Linked DNA regions of Homo sapiens: regions 1, 2, 4 and 5 are each linked to region 3. The links are contacts of gene promoters, found by promoter capture Hi-C in blood cells and fetal thymus (Javierre and others, 2016). All regions are on one chromosome and are shown on one strand. Each heading gives the region's core, a stretch centred on a gene start or on the middle of the fragment in contact. The rest is flanking DNA. Distances are from core to core; before and after follow the strand shown.

Region 1 (2,700 bases), core at 76-2,575, 310 kb after region 3:
TTGCTTAGTGAAAGAAATATAAATCTCTGAGATAGGTGACACGGGGATTTCATTTGGAACTGAAGCCCATAGTTATAAAAATTCAGTAAGGAGGAGAAAAAGAAAACAAAATAAAACTAGATTGAATCATTAATCAAAGACTGTGTGTATGGCTTAGGTTTATGTTTTTGAACCAACAGTAAATAGTAAGAAAGCATTTTCTTTTTTATGCATGTAACTAATATATTAATAGTAAAAGGACTGTTGGCTAAAGTTCAAAGTGAACGCTTTTCCTAAAACATAAAAAGCAAGTAAAATAAAACCCACAAAAACTACAGTAAACAAATGAATGCATTTTACAAAATAAAACATTTCCCTTGGAAAGTTGAGTGAAAACAAATATGTAAATAGCTTCTGTTTTTATAGTTAAAGCTTTTTAATCTCTGGTGCATAACAATTGAAAGAATGAGAACTTAGACAAAAGTATTTGGTGGATTTGAGTTAATGGGCCAAGCAAGCTTTTTTTCCTTGGCTTCTCTGTCAAATGAGTCATAGATCGAGTCTTTGGTAATAGTTTTGGCCATGGAAGGGATTTCTGAAATGCCAACGTAGTTTTTTTTGGCCATCCTTGAACTTGTTGTGATAGTATAGGCATTGCTTCGGTAACATTTCATAGAGGACATGCAAAAAGTCTCTTTCATCCCTCTCCGAAAATTGGCATTATAAATTGAATACAGAGTAGGTTTAGAGGCTGAAGAACTAAAGGATATCCATGTGATAGCTGTGAAAACAAGGGAACTTTTCTTATAGTCTTGTTCATGGGGGTGCCATAGCTGAGCTACATGAAAAGGCAGCCAGGAGAGCAAAAACAACAGATTTAAAATGAGGAACATCTTGATAGTTTTCACTTTTGTCCGAGGGACAATGTTCATTGTCCTCCTCACCGTTCGGCCATCTGTGCCTATTCTCCAAATATATTTTATGACCTTTTGGTAAAATAAAATTATGAGGACAGATGGAATCACAAAGCCCACCAAGAAGTGGATGACAGTGTAGGCAGTGCCTTCCCAAGAGGAGGGGAGGAAATAGTTACAATGACTGTCCCAGTTGGAGCCATAGAAAAAGAGCACAGGGGTCACAAAGCCTGCATCAAAGACCCACGATGCCGCAATCATTTTCTTGGCTTTTTCTCTGGACACCTTGAAGCTCAGAGGATAGACGATGGTGTAGAACCGGTCTATGCAGATGGAGAGGAGAACGTAGATCTGGACACCTGGAGTGAGATATTGAAAATATCGCACAACCTTGCACGTTGCACTACCCAGCGTCCACCTTCCAGTGGTGAACTGGAGCAGGACGAAAGGCGTGCTGGCAACGCTGATGAGAAGGTCAGCACATGCCATGGAGACCACAAAGTAGTTGGTGGTAGACTGAGTCCTCCTACTCCTATGGATGACCAAACAAACCAGGGAATTGCCGAAGATAGAAAACAACCACAGAATCCCAAAGAAGATGCTGGCTGTGGCCACTTCCCCGGGTTTCAGCACATAGTGAAGGTCTGTTTGGTTGCTCATCCAACTGTGCTCCTCACTTAATTCCATCAGGTATTGGCTTGGCAGAGGTGTGGCTGTTTCAGTGCAGCTGCGGTTTTGGAGGGGCACCAGAAGTGTAGGAATAATCAAATGTGGCTTGCTGTTATCCATTCTGTGAGCAAAAACCATATTCACTTTTTTTCTCTTAATTCTGGTTGGGGAAAAGAAGAATGAGGCCTCCTGTTAAAAAGGTGTCATACAGATTGGTTATGATTACTCAGGCTAACGATCTTATTTGACATTTACATTGATTGTCATTTGTCTTTGTGTAGGACTTGAGCGTTGGCAGGAAAACATAACTACTATCCAGAAAAAATTCTGGCCCCAACTTTGTTTTCATTTTAGGAGCTGTTTCAGCAGATCTCAGCTCAGGCTCTCTCTGGCCTCACCTTCTCTTGACCCTTAGTCATACCGAGCTCCCCTCCTACACATATCCTTGTTCCCTTCACTCATCAGGGATCACAGAATATTAGGGATCTCAAATCTGGCTCATGGTAACGGTGTTACCACCAACTGAAGATCTGCTGGAATTCTGGGCAAGTATGTGAGAAGTTCCTAATTGTCCTAAGGTTGCAAAAGAGGAAAGCTTGGGCAGATGAAAACACACAGATTTTGACTATGGAAGTAGCTAACAGCAGTCTGTGAATGTAGACAGGCTAGCTACTGGGAAGGGTGCTGTCCTTACTTAGTGTAGATTTTCCATCACAGAAGGATTATGGTAACACATGGAGCAGTCAACACTGCTACATGAGCCAGAAATAGCTCCTAATTTAATGACATCTGAAAATAGCTTGCTTTTTCTAAAAGACGATACAGTTCATGCACTAATAGCTTGCCACCTACCAGTGACATATATTTTGATGCTATTCTGTTGTTATTGTTTCATAAAATACTGACTGAAGAACATACAAGATGTCCTCTAAGAAATGTAACCAGGTTACGGGAGACCTTATGGCAGTCAGGTGATTAAAAACAACAAAAAAATGTAACTGTTAGCTAAGCACAGTGGGGAACACCTATAGTCCCAGCTACTCAGAAGGCTGAAGCAGGAGGATCAGTTGGTCCAGAAGTTTGAATCCAGCCTGGGCAACATAGCAAGACCCTATCTCAAAAAAAAAAAAAGTAACTT
Region 2 (2,700 bases), core at 82-2,581, 270 kb before region 3:
TGTCTTGAACTCCTGACCTCAAGTGATCTGCCCACCTCGGCCTCCCAAAGTGCTAGGATTACAGGCGTGAGCCACCGCGCCCAGCCCAGATATGTACTTTTTAATGGCAATGTTACCACATTTAATGAGATTATCTTTTTAAAAAATGTTTTAATTTTTAAATTTTAAAAAATAGGGATGGGATCTTACTTTGTTGCCTAGACTGGTCTCCAAATCCAGGTCTCAAGTGATCCTCCCACCTTGGCCTCCTAAGGTGGTGGGATTACAGGTGTGAGCCACGGTGCCAGCCAAGATGATCAATACTTCCTTAATATCATCTAAAACATACACTGTACTGTGTTTAGTTCTCTATCATCTCAAAGATATCTACATCTTTATACAGTATGTTTGAATTACGATTTAATAAAGATCCACTCATGACATCTAATTGATGTCTCTTTTTTTTTAATATGTTTCTTTTTTTTCTTTTTATTTATTTATTTATTTTTGAGACAGAGTCTCCGTGTGTCACCCAGGCTGGAGTGCAATGGCGCGATCCCCGCTCACTGCAACCTTTGCCTCCCAGGTTCAAGTGATTCTCCTGTTGCAGTCTCCCAACTCACTGGAATTACAGGCACCTGCCATCATGCCCAGCTAATTTTTGTATTTTTTTTAGAGACAGGGTTTCACCACGTTGGCCAGGCTGCTCTTGAACTCCTGCCTCCCAAAGTGCTGGGATTACAGGCGTGAACGATTGTGCCCTGCCTGATATGTTTCTATTCTTTCTTTCTTTCTTTCTTTCTTTTTTTTTTGAGACGGAGTTTCGCTGTTGTTGCCCAGGCTGGATGCAATGGCGTGATCTCGGCTCACTGCAACCTCCGCCTCCTGGGTTCAAGTGATTCTCCTGCCTCAGCCTCCCGAGTAGCTGGGATTGCAGGCATGTGCCACCATGCCTGGCTAATTTTGTATTTTTAGTAGAGACGGGGTTTCTCCATGTTGGTCAGGCTGGTCTCAAACTCCCGACCTCTGGTGAACTACCCGCCTTGGCCTCCCAAAGTGCTAGGATTACAGGCGTGAGCCATCGTCCCCTGCCGGATATGTTTCTTATGTCTCTTTTAAGCTGTAGCAGTTCTCTGTCTTCACCTTTTTTTGGCGCCATTTATTTGTTGAAGAAACCGGCCATTTGTCTTGCAGAACTTACCAGATACTGAATTTGGATAGCTGCCTTCTTGTGGTCATTAGTTTATTTCTCTGTCCCCTGTATTTCCTGTAAACTGATCATTAGATCCAGAGGCTTGATCAGATTCGGATCCAATGTTTTTGGATCAGGAGACACATAATGGTTGTCTCACCTTTAGTGAGACCAAGATTGGTCATTGGGAACAGGGAAGTGGAGCTGGGGTGAGTATAGGGTCACCAGATGTCCAGTACAAGCAGAATGGACAGGGCTGTGCTGCAGGATGGATGAGGGGAGGGTGGGATGCCCGGAAAATGCATGGGGGAGGGTGGGATGCCCGGAAAATGCATGGGGGAGGGTGGGATGCCCGGAAAATGCATGGGGGAGGGTGGGATGCCCGGAAAATGCATGGGGGAGGGTGGGATTGGATGGAATTGGGGAGCGGGAAGGGGTAAGTGGAAAAGCAGTAAGGAACATGACCTTCGAGGAGACACTGACGTGACTCCTTACAGAGCAAACGATTTGCATGTAAGTGAAATGCATGTAAGTGAATGTGAAATTGGAGCAGTGGCGGGAAGAAAGATTGTCCAAGCCCTGGAATAAGACAGGAATGTGAAGAAACAGCAGAGGAGGAGGAAGGATTGCAGTCATGACCCCCACTTCATGCCATACTCCTCAAGCATTTGCTTACATCCAGTTATGTGAGGGAGGTTTGCGGGGCTTGGAAGTTGTATAATTGTATCTGTGTAGTTGGTCTGGTGGGTTTTGCAACTTGCCCTTTGCTGCACTGGGAGGGCCATTTTTGTCCCCTCCAGCATCACCTGATGTTGCAGCATAGCCCGCTGCATCCCTCCCAGGCTCACTTCCATCAGAACGCACCTAGCCAGGGACCCTTGCTTTCCTGGGGCCTGGCCAAGGAGCAGTTCCTCAGATCAACAGCTTCGCTATCAGCCAATGTGAGCCTCTTCTAAGTAAAGGAGAGGAGACAGTGATGGAAAAAGGCAGCATCCAGCAGGCCCTCAGGGGAGATATTTCAGCTCCTACACCTCCTTCCAATAGCAGAACCAGGGGGAAAAGTTAGAGAATATCCTTATTCTATCTAACAACTTGGACACCGAGGAACAAAAAGGTGGCGTGACTTGCCCAAGGATGTTGCAGGTTAGAAGCTGAGCCAGCCGTGGCTATCCATCCTTCAGACACCCAGGCCAACTTGTCTGTACCACCTCACATTGCCTCAAACCCTGTCTGCAGTTACTGTCCCATTTCTTTATCATTTGGTCCTGGTATGACAAGGTACAGTGGAAAGAAAAAGAGGAACATGCCAGCCAGTCCCCTTAATATTACTGCAGCTTCTTTATCATCACAGCAGCTTACATGCCGAAAGACCGTCTTAAATTAGGACCAGAAAGGGAAGGGAACATTATTAAGAGCCATATTAAGACAGAGCCTGAGGCCGGGCATGGTAGCTCATGGCTGTAATCTCAGCACTTTGGGAGGCTGAGGCAGGTGGATCACTTGAGCCCAGGAGTTTCGCACCAGACTGG
Region 3 (2,700 bases), core at 189-2,688:
TATACAGTAAAATAGTAACATTTATTGCGTCTAAAATGCCAGTTTCTATGCTAAGCACTTTATATATATCATGTCATTTAATCTTTACAGATCCCATTATTATCCTCATTTTAGTTAAAACTTACAAAAAGTTGTGGGACATAATATGTGCTTCTTTATTAACCTATTAAGTAACAAGTGGTCATCTAATAACTGCCATAATTTTGACGTGGTATTGAGTATAGATAATATTTTGAAACGTGCAACAAGTCATGTGATATAAAGATATCGGCAATATTTACAGGGGGCAAATCATAGCTACTGCTAATACTACTGTGGCTTTTGCCTACATTCCATTTCAGAAGTCGGTGAAATAATAATTTTTTCCACTCAAGTTCACAGACATCCTGAATTCTATCCATGGATACCTTATCGTGGACTCCCCAGGTTAATAATTCTGGCCAAGGTACTTAATACGCTGCCATATTTTGCAAGCCTCTAGGGAATCAAGAGAAAACCAGGCCAATACTTTATTTTGAATGGATTCTAATGTAGCCTCTTTTCAAGCTTTTGCAAAGAAACCTGAACTATGTAAGGAGATGGGGCAGGAGTTGTTTTCAGTATGCAGCATTGAGAGAAGTGTTTAAGAGTTTTATATCATTAAAGAGGCTCAGCAATATTAGGTTAGCGACGTTTTCTAATCCATTATTATTTAGGCTTTAAGGGCCTGAAGTCGAGTTGAATCTTGTTGAAAGACGGGGTAAAAGGATACAGGCGGGTGAGAGAGGATGCCCCTGAGTTTTAACGTCTGCATACAAGAGTCGCTAAAACTTACTCGCACGTAATTAGTTCAAATATTGGAAATCGTCTTACAGCACACTATAATTTACCAAGATGCTTATAACTGTATACACACACACACTCTACAGAGAATTAGACAATTAGCAGTTTCAATAATGAATACAGAGTCAACGACAAGAAAACAGGGAACATTTTCTCTTCCTTTGAGGAAATGCATGTTGCCTACTGAGCTATTCTTCTGCCTCTCCTTCTGATGTCAACGCAGAGCCAGAGCCATTTATGGCAGGTGCCTTGAGCCCGCCTAGAGGTCCCCTTTGGAATACTGCAGCGACTCAAGGATCCTGGTCAGCCCTTATTGGCCCCAGCTGGTCCTTTGGATGCTCGGGTGTGGGTGAAGGAGCCTCGGCCCCTGGAAAGGAGGGGACCGACTCTCTCCGCAGGTAGCGACGTCGCCTGCGGCCGGTCGGGGGTGGGTATTGGGGAGACCCCTTTACCTGGCGTCGAGAGGACCCCGGCGCCCCTGCTGCCATCCAGGTGCGAGGACAGCTCTGTCGCGCCCGCGGGAAGGACCGGCGAATCCGCGCGGGGGTCTCGGCGAGGACCGCAGCGGATGCTCCGCAGCTCCCGCACCGGCCTGGCGGGTTTTGTGGTTAGCAAGTTCCTGCTTCCGTCGCAGCGACGGCAAGTTTGCCGCGGGGGAAGGGCACGTTCCTGCCCTGCAACCCGGAGCTGCTTCCCGGCAACATTAGCGCGTCCCTCCCCGCGGAGGCTCCGGGCTCCCGGCCCCAGCGCTGAGCCCCGCAGGGAGGTGGCTCCCCCCACCGCCCCGCGCTCCCCCCCAGCTCAGCCACACCGCTGACCCCGGGCTGGGCGCGCTGCGAGGGGGAGTGCGTGCCTCCCTGCTGGTGGCCCGAGGGTCTGCAGGTGAGCCTTGCCTCGCGGCCCGCGCAAGTTAAAATAAATGCACATGGGGAAAATGTCAAACAGTACAAAAATAGACACAGAGACAAGTCTACCCCTCACCCCCGTGCCCCAGTCTCCTAGTCTCCCTCCTCAGAGGCAACCACTGAGAGCAGTTTTTTGATGTTCAAGGGCTTATAGTGCATCCTATTGGGGGCATAGTTCTGAGAATCCTCTTTCCATAATTGGAGGATGGAGTCCTCAATTAAAGATGGCAATTCTTGAGTTAAATATTATCTGCAAGACAAACTTCAGGGAAGGTATTTGGCTTTCTGCGGGATTTATTGTTTGTAGATAGGATAATAATGGTGAAAATGCTGGTGTCTGTAACATATATTAAAACTGTATCCCTAACACTTAGCATAGTGCCTGGTACACAATAGGTGCTCAGTAAATATTTAACTAAAATATTTTTGTTGACTGAATGAATGGAAAAGAACTGCATAGGGCATAGGTTGTGGAAGTTTCTAAATTACTGCTGGCCCCATCCCCACCTCCATAAACACACACACAAATGCAACGTTACTAAACCATTGACACTTAGTTTGCCATATGGTCTAACCTTTGACAGTATCTTCACCTCTGTTTTGAAAGAGCTTGCAGACCTGAAGCGCTATGCAATTGCAAGTTAAGTCTAGGCCTGTACGGCCAACAGCTACACACCCTAGTCTTAACCAATAACTACAGGAGGATTAGGTTGACTGAGAATGCTTGTGAACAAAGGTCCATTGTGTGAAACTAACTCTACTTGTAACCAAAGGATGACTCTTGAATTACAATGTTGCTAAAGCTAGGTTTGAAAGAGTTACCAAAGAAAAGTAAACACCAGAGTAATTTCCCATTGCAGTGATTTTCCTGATGCAACAAGGGACTGATCTGCAAGTGTGTTTTATCTTTTATCATCTGATACACTTCAGGGTTCAGGGTGTAGAGCTATCACAGTTTTTGAATCTCTCTACA
Region 4 (2,700 bases), core at 105-2,604, 260 kb before region 3:
GATGCGATTGATTTCTGTGCCCATGCACTAGTACACGAGAATGGAATTGTATTCCAGGTTGCAACCTTATTCCCTTTCTAAGTCCTGGTTTCTACTTAGTCCTAAATTTTATTTCCCTTGGAGTCAAAATTCTTCATGCTGGTAGAATCTCAAAAATGAGTCACTTTGGAAAACATAAGTAAACCTTCTGGAGCCTCCTTGGAATTTTTGGAAACTAAAAAAGAAACTTGTTATTGCAAGAAAAGACACCAGTAAATTAAAATTTGCTGGATGGAATTATTAATCTCATTCCCCATGTAACTGATCCTCATTGAAGTTTAGACTCGCATTTGCTTTGCAGCCTGGATATCTGTGTCCCACAGTTGCTCCAAAGCTGGAATACTTTCTGGAATCTTTTTCCCCTGTAGTTGCTGGACTGTTGCCTGTTTAAGGGCTCTCTTAGCAGTTCAGCCAGGGAGGTGCGCTAGTGTTACTGGGAGAATGTATGGATTTCCTGCCATTTGGAAGTTGAGACCCATCTTTCCAATCAGGAACGGGTGAGAGTTGCCTTCAGGTAAACAGTTGGTGAGCAAACCTTCAACAGAGTCAAAAGGGCTTCTCTATGCCTCCTGGGTCCATAACCCACAGACGACTGAGTAGTCTCTAGAATCTGTCAATCAGGGGCTGGCTTGCAGACATAGACCCTTGTTTTTCCAGAATCTGTGGGGAGGGAGTCAGACCCTGGGGGTGGGGATGGGAGGTTCTGCAGGAAGACAAACAGCTCCTGTCTATAGCTTTGTCAAAAGTGTGCCCAGAGGCTGGTGACCCAGAGGGCGAAGCACCTGGGAGATGGGACAGAATGAGAAACAGCGAGAAAACCAGGGATATTAGGTTAAAGAAAAGAGAACGGGGTGTGTGAGCTTTGGGACCACAAGTAGAGGGTGGAGAGGGGTGCAGAGGAAGCAAGAGATGGAACAGGATCATGATTTAAGGGCACCCCTGCATTTCTCCAGAGCTAGTGTCATGGATACACAAATTATGCCTAGTATGGGGTGATTGATTTCTCCTTATGGTAAGAATGAACCTCCATTCCTGGAGAATAGGCATTCCAGGCTGCCCATGAGAGTCAACGGGTGCCTTGTGAGAGAATGATCTTCCTGTCACGGGAAGAATTGCAAGTAGGTGCCAATACCAGTTAGCATTTCAGCACAGAACTCCGAGGGGTCCTTTAGACAACCTCAAGGGCTCTTTACAACTCAGAGTTTCTGTGGCTCTCACGGCAACCTCCTTCCCAGCTTCCCTAAGCAGGGACTTGTGGTCATTGGTCAGGGAGGTGGGAAAGGCGGAGTGGGGGTGCTGGAGGTGGGACGAAGGCCACCGATCTCAGGTTATGAAGAGCGATGGTTTCATTTTCACCCCCACAAATTACCACTTTCAAAAACCTCACTTTGCCTGGTGCTCTCTCTTAAGGAGTTTGGACATTTTACATTGCTTATGGCAAAGCCTTGGTTGTTATTTCCTTTACATGCTTCCCCAGTAGGGAGCTCTGCTAGAGACACATGGTAGGTGTGACCTTGTGCTGGGCGGGTGCCAAGCTCCCACTGCAGAGTGCCGTGTGTGTGGCTGCAGGGGATCTGCAGAGCCGCTGGTCCCAAGAGCACACACAGCCCGAAGGCCCATCCTACACCTCCAGGAGAGGCCAAAGAGCCAGGTGCACCCGAGAGGGACAGGCAGGGGAGGGGTGAGGAGGTGCCAGTGGAAGCCCTGTCTTTGTGGCGTTTGATTCTTTTACTGTTCTGGCACAGTCCCCACTTGGCTGCCTGCTAGGGTTTTGAGCCTGGCCTCCTCCATTGGGAAACTGATGAAGAGGAGTCTGTTCCCTGTTATGGAGGAGGCTGGCCATGCCTCCTGCAGAGTCACAACCCAGACGGGGCCTGGACGGTGGGGGTGGGCGTGGTTCAGGGAAAAGACAGGTCTGCCAAAATCTCCCAATCGCATCTGACTCATCCCCCAGATATCCCTTTTAGAAACAATATTTGTTGAAAACCCGCTTGGCTTATCATTCCTCTAGGACAGAACTAGAGGATTTTCAAATAAATATTTTGTCCCTGCTCACTCAGAAATTTCCGTTTTCACATGACAACCAGCATATTAACAGACATTGCAAGAATGCTTTAAATGAAGATGATATATAGCTTTTTGATATGAGCCCTGATTTTTCAAAAGCAGAAGAGGCAGCATTGATTTTGTTTTAAAGGCGTGGTAGTTCAAAGGAGGTAAAGCAGAGAGATACCAGGTTCAAGGGAAGGCCGGGAGGTAAAATCAATAGGGTAGAATAATGGGAAAGAAATCAATGAATTGGAGTTTTTTTAAGTGAACATTGCATGCAAGGGAGTCTTCCCTGACCTCCATGCTCCCGTAGCATCCTGAAAAATGACTCGCATTTCCAAAGCACCTCTTCTATGTCCAGCACTATAAAGTGTTCAACTACCCTATAGTATAGGGCCAAGCACAGTGGCTCACACTTGTAATCCCAGCTCCTGGGGAGGCCGAGGTGGGAGGATCGCTTGAGGCCAGGAGTTTGAGACCAGCCTGGGCAATATAGTAAGCCTTGTCCCTAAAAAACAATAATAATAAAAGTTTCTTAAGAAAATGAAGGCTGGGTACGGGCACAGTGGCCCACACCTGTAATCCCAGCACTTTGGGAGGCCGAGGCAGGTG
Region 5 (2,700 bases), core at 85-2,584, 280 kb after region 3:
CTAAGTGAAAGGAGCCATTTTGGAGAAGGCAAAACTGTAGAGATAGTAAAAAGTTCAGTGATTGTCAGGGTTTCAGGAGAGGGAGGAAGAGAGGGAGGAATAGATGGAGCACAGGGGGTTTTTAGGGCAGTGAGACGATTCTGTATGATACTGCTTATCAAAATTCATAGAATATACCACACCAAGAGTGAACTCTAATGTAAACTGTGGACTTCAGTTACTAATAATAAATCAATGTTAGTTCATCAATTATAATAAATGTACCACACTAATGAAAGATGTTAATAATAAGGGAAACTGTGAGAGTGGAGAGGGGATAGTATAGGAACTCCCTGTACTTTCTTCTTAATTTTCCCGTAAACCTAAACAGCTGTAAAAAAATAAAGTCTATTGATTTAAAAAAGAAAAAAAGAAACTCTGAGGCCATTAACAGGCACTCCCCATTTTTTCTTCCCTTCTCAGCCCTAAGCAACCATTAATCTACTTTAAGTCTCTATAGATTTGGAATAATACAATATGTGGCCTTTTGTATTTGTCTTTCACTTAGCATAATGCTTTCAAGGCTATCAGTGTTGTACCGTGTGTCAGCACTTCATTCCATTTTATAGCTGAATAATGTTCCATTGTATGGATATACTACTTTTTGTTATCTATTCATCAGTTGATGGACATTTGGGTTGTTTCTGCTTTTTAGGTATCATGAGTAATGGTGCTGTGAACATTGATATACAAGTTCTAATGTGGACCTATGTTTTCCTTTCTTTTTGGAATATACCTAGGGCTGGAATTGCTAGGTTATAAACTTTATGTTTAACTTTTTGAGGAACTGCCAAAATGTTTTCCAAAGTGGCTGCACCATTTTACATTCCCACAGCAATGTATGAGGATTTCACTTTCTCCACATCTGCACCAGTACTTGTTACTGGTTGTCTTTTTTTTTGAGACGGAGTCTCACTTTGTTGCCAGGATGGAGTGGTGCAATCTCGGCTCACTGCAACCTCCAACTCCCGGGTTCAAGCGATTCTCCTGCCTCAGCCTCCCGAGTAGCTGGGCCTACAGGCGCGCGCCACCATGCCCAGCTAATTGTTTTTTATTTTTAGTAGAGATGGGGTTTCACTATGTTGGCCAGGATGGTCTTGATCTCTTGACATTATGATCCGCCCACCTCAGCCTCCCAAAGTGCTGGGATTACAGGCTAAGCCACCATGCCTGGCATTGGCTATCTTTTTGATTATGTAAACATCCTAGTGGGTGTAAAGTGATATATTTTGTGGTTTTCATTCACATTTCCCTGATGACTAATGATGTTGAGTATTTTTTCATTTGCTTATTGGCATTTGTATATCTTCTTTGGAGGAATGTCTATCCAAATCCTTGCCCCTTTTTAAAATTGGGTTGTCTTTTTATTATTGAGTTGTAAGAGTTCTTTATGTATTCTAGATACAAGTCCCTTATCATATTTGTGATTTACAAATATTTTCTCCCATTCTGTGGGTTGTCTTTTTACCTTGATTATCCTTGAAATACAGTTTGGTAGCTTGTGCTTATCATATCTAAGAAACCATTGCCTAATCCAAGGTCATAAGGAGTAAATCCTCTGTTTTCCTCTAAGTTTTATAGTTTTATCTCTGACATTTAGGCCTTTGTTCTATTTTTTTTAAATTTGAGACAGGGTCTCACTCTGTCATCTAGGCCGGACTGCAGTGGCACAAACCCAGCTTCACTGCAGTCTTGACCTCCTGGGCTCAAGAGATCCTCTCGCCCCAGCCTCCCAAAGTGCTGGGATTACAGTGTGAACCACTGCACCCGGCTTGTTCAATTTTTAATTTTTGTATATGGTACGAGGTAGTGATCCAACTTAATTATTTTGCAAGTGGCTATCCACCTGTCCCAGCACCCTTTATTGAAGAGACTATTCTTTCCCCATTTAATTGCTTTGGCACCTTGTCAAAAATCAATTGACCATAAACGTAAGGATTTATTTCTGGATTCTCTATGCTTTTCCATTGGTCTGTATGTCTGTCCTTGTGCCAGTATTACACTGTCTTGATTACTGTAGCTTTCTAATAAATTCTGAAATCAGAAAGTGTGAGCCCTCCAATTTGCGTCTTTTTCAAGATTGTTTTGGTTATTCTGGGTCCCTCGTATTTCCATGTGAACTTTAGGATTAGCCTGCCAATTTCAGCAAAAAGGTAGCTGAGATTTTGATAGGAATTTTGTTGAAACTGTAGATCAATTTGAGGAGTATTCCTTTCTTAATAATAATAAATCTTCCAGCCCACTAACATGGGCTGCCTTTCCATTTATCAGATCTTCTTTAATTTCTTTTAATGATATTTTGTGGTTTTTAGTGCACAGATTTGACACTCCTTATGCTAAATTTATTCCTGAGTATTGTATTCTTTTTTAGGCTACTGTAAGTGGAGTCATTTTCTTAATTTCATTTTCAGATTGTTCATTGATAGTGTGTAGAAACACAACTGATTTTTGTATATTGATCTTGTATCCTGGACCCTTGCTCTACTCATTTAGTAGCTCTAATAGGTTTTTTCAGGGGGGCAAGAATTCTTTTGGATTGGATTTTCTATATATAAAATCATGTCACCTTCAAGGAGATAGCTTTACTTTTTCCTTTCCTTTCCCTGAATGCTTCCTATTTTTTCTTGGTAGTTCAGTGTTAAATAGAAGTGATGAGAGAAG

What was found. Contacts are between HindIII fragments. The CHiCAGO score rates a contact against its expected background, and 5 or more counts as called.
Region 1: a fragment that was not itself captured here is called in contact with the fragment with the promoter of MANSC1 in region 3 in 12 of 17 cell types (monocytes, endothelial precursors, M1 macrophages and 9 more); the score reaches 7.9 in monocytes.
Region 2: a fragment that was not itself captured here is called in contact with the fragment with the promoter of MANSC1 in region 3 in 3 of 17 cell types (endothelial precursors, M1 macrophages and megakaryocytes); the score reaches 8.7 in endothelial precursors.
Region 4: a fragment that was not itself captured here is called in contact with the fragment with the promoter of MANSC1 in region 3 in 1 of 17 cell types (endothelial precursors); the score reaches 5.7 in endothelial precursors.
Region 5: a fragment that was not itself captured here is called in contact with the fragment with the promoter of MANSC1 in region 3 in 8 of 17 cell types (neutrophils, total CD4 T cells, total B cells and 5 more); the score reaches 6.8 in neutrophils.

Annotation. Positions count from the first base shown.
Region 1 is chr12:12,660,749-12,663,448 of GRCh38, forward strand. It overlaps GPR19 (G protein-coupled receptor 19), which reads right to left. Exons shown (of 4, transcript NM_006143.3): 4 at 142-1,722. The coding sequence starts at 1,700. The coding sequence ends at 453. Among named protein-coding and RNA genes, the nearest start is that of GPR19, 34 kb to the right of the region's middle. The HindIII fragment of the contact is 1,660 bases long and covers 496-2,155 here.
Region 2 is chr12:12,074,653-12,077,352 of GRCh38, forward strand. All of the region lies in intron 1 of BCL2L14 (BCL2 like 14), which reads left to right. Among named protein-coding and RNA genes, the nearest start is that of BCL2L14, 5.1 kb to the left of the region's middle. The HindIII fragment of the contact is 4,952 bases long and covers 1-2,700 here.
Region 3 is chr12:12,348,804-12,351,503 of GRCh38, forward strand. It overlaps MANSC1 (MANSC domain containing 1), which reads right to left and starts at 1,439. Exons shown (of 4, transcript NM_018050.4): 1 at 1,275-1,439. RefSeq lists a silencer at 1,440-1,749. The HindIII fragment of the contact is 5,175 bases long and covers 545-2,700 here.
Region 4 is chr12:12,090,869-12,093,568 of GRCh38, forward strand. The region is part of intron 4 of BCL2L14 (BCL2 like 14); the gene reads left to right. Among named protein-coding and RNA genes, the nearest start is that of MIR1244-4, 20 kb to the right of the region's middle. The HindIII fragment of the contact is 4,089 bases long and covers 1-2,700 here.
Region 5 is chr12:12,626,964-12,629,663 of GRCh38, forward strand. All of the region lies in intron 1 of CREBL2 (cAMP responsive element binding protein like 2), which reads left to right. Among named protein-coding and RNA genes, the nearest start is that of CREBL2, 16 kb to the left of the region's middle. The HindIII fragment of the contact is 3,664 bases long and covers 1-2,700 here.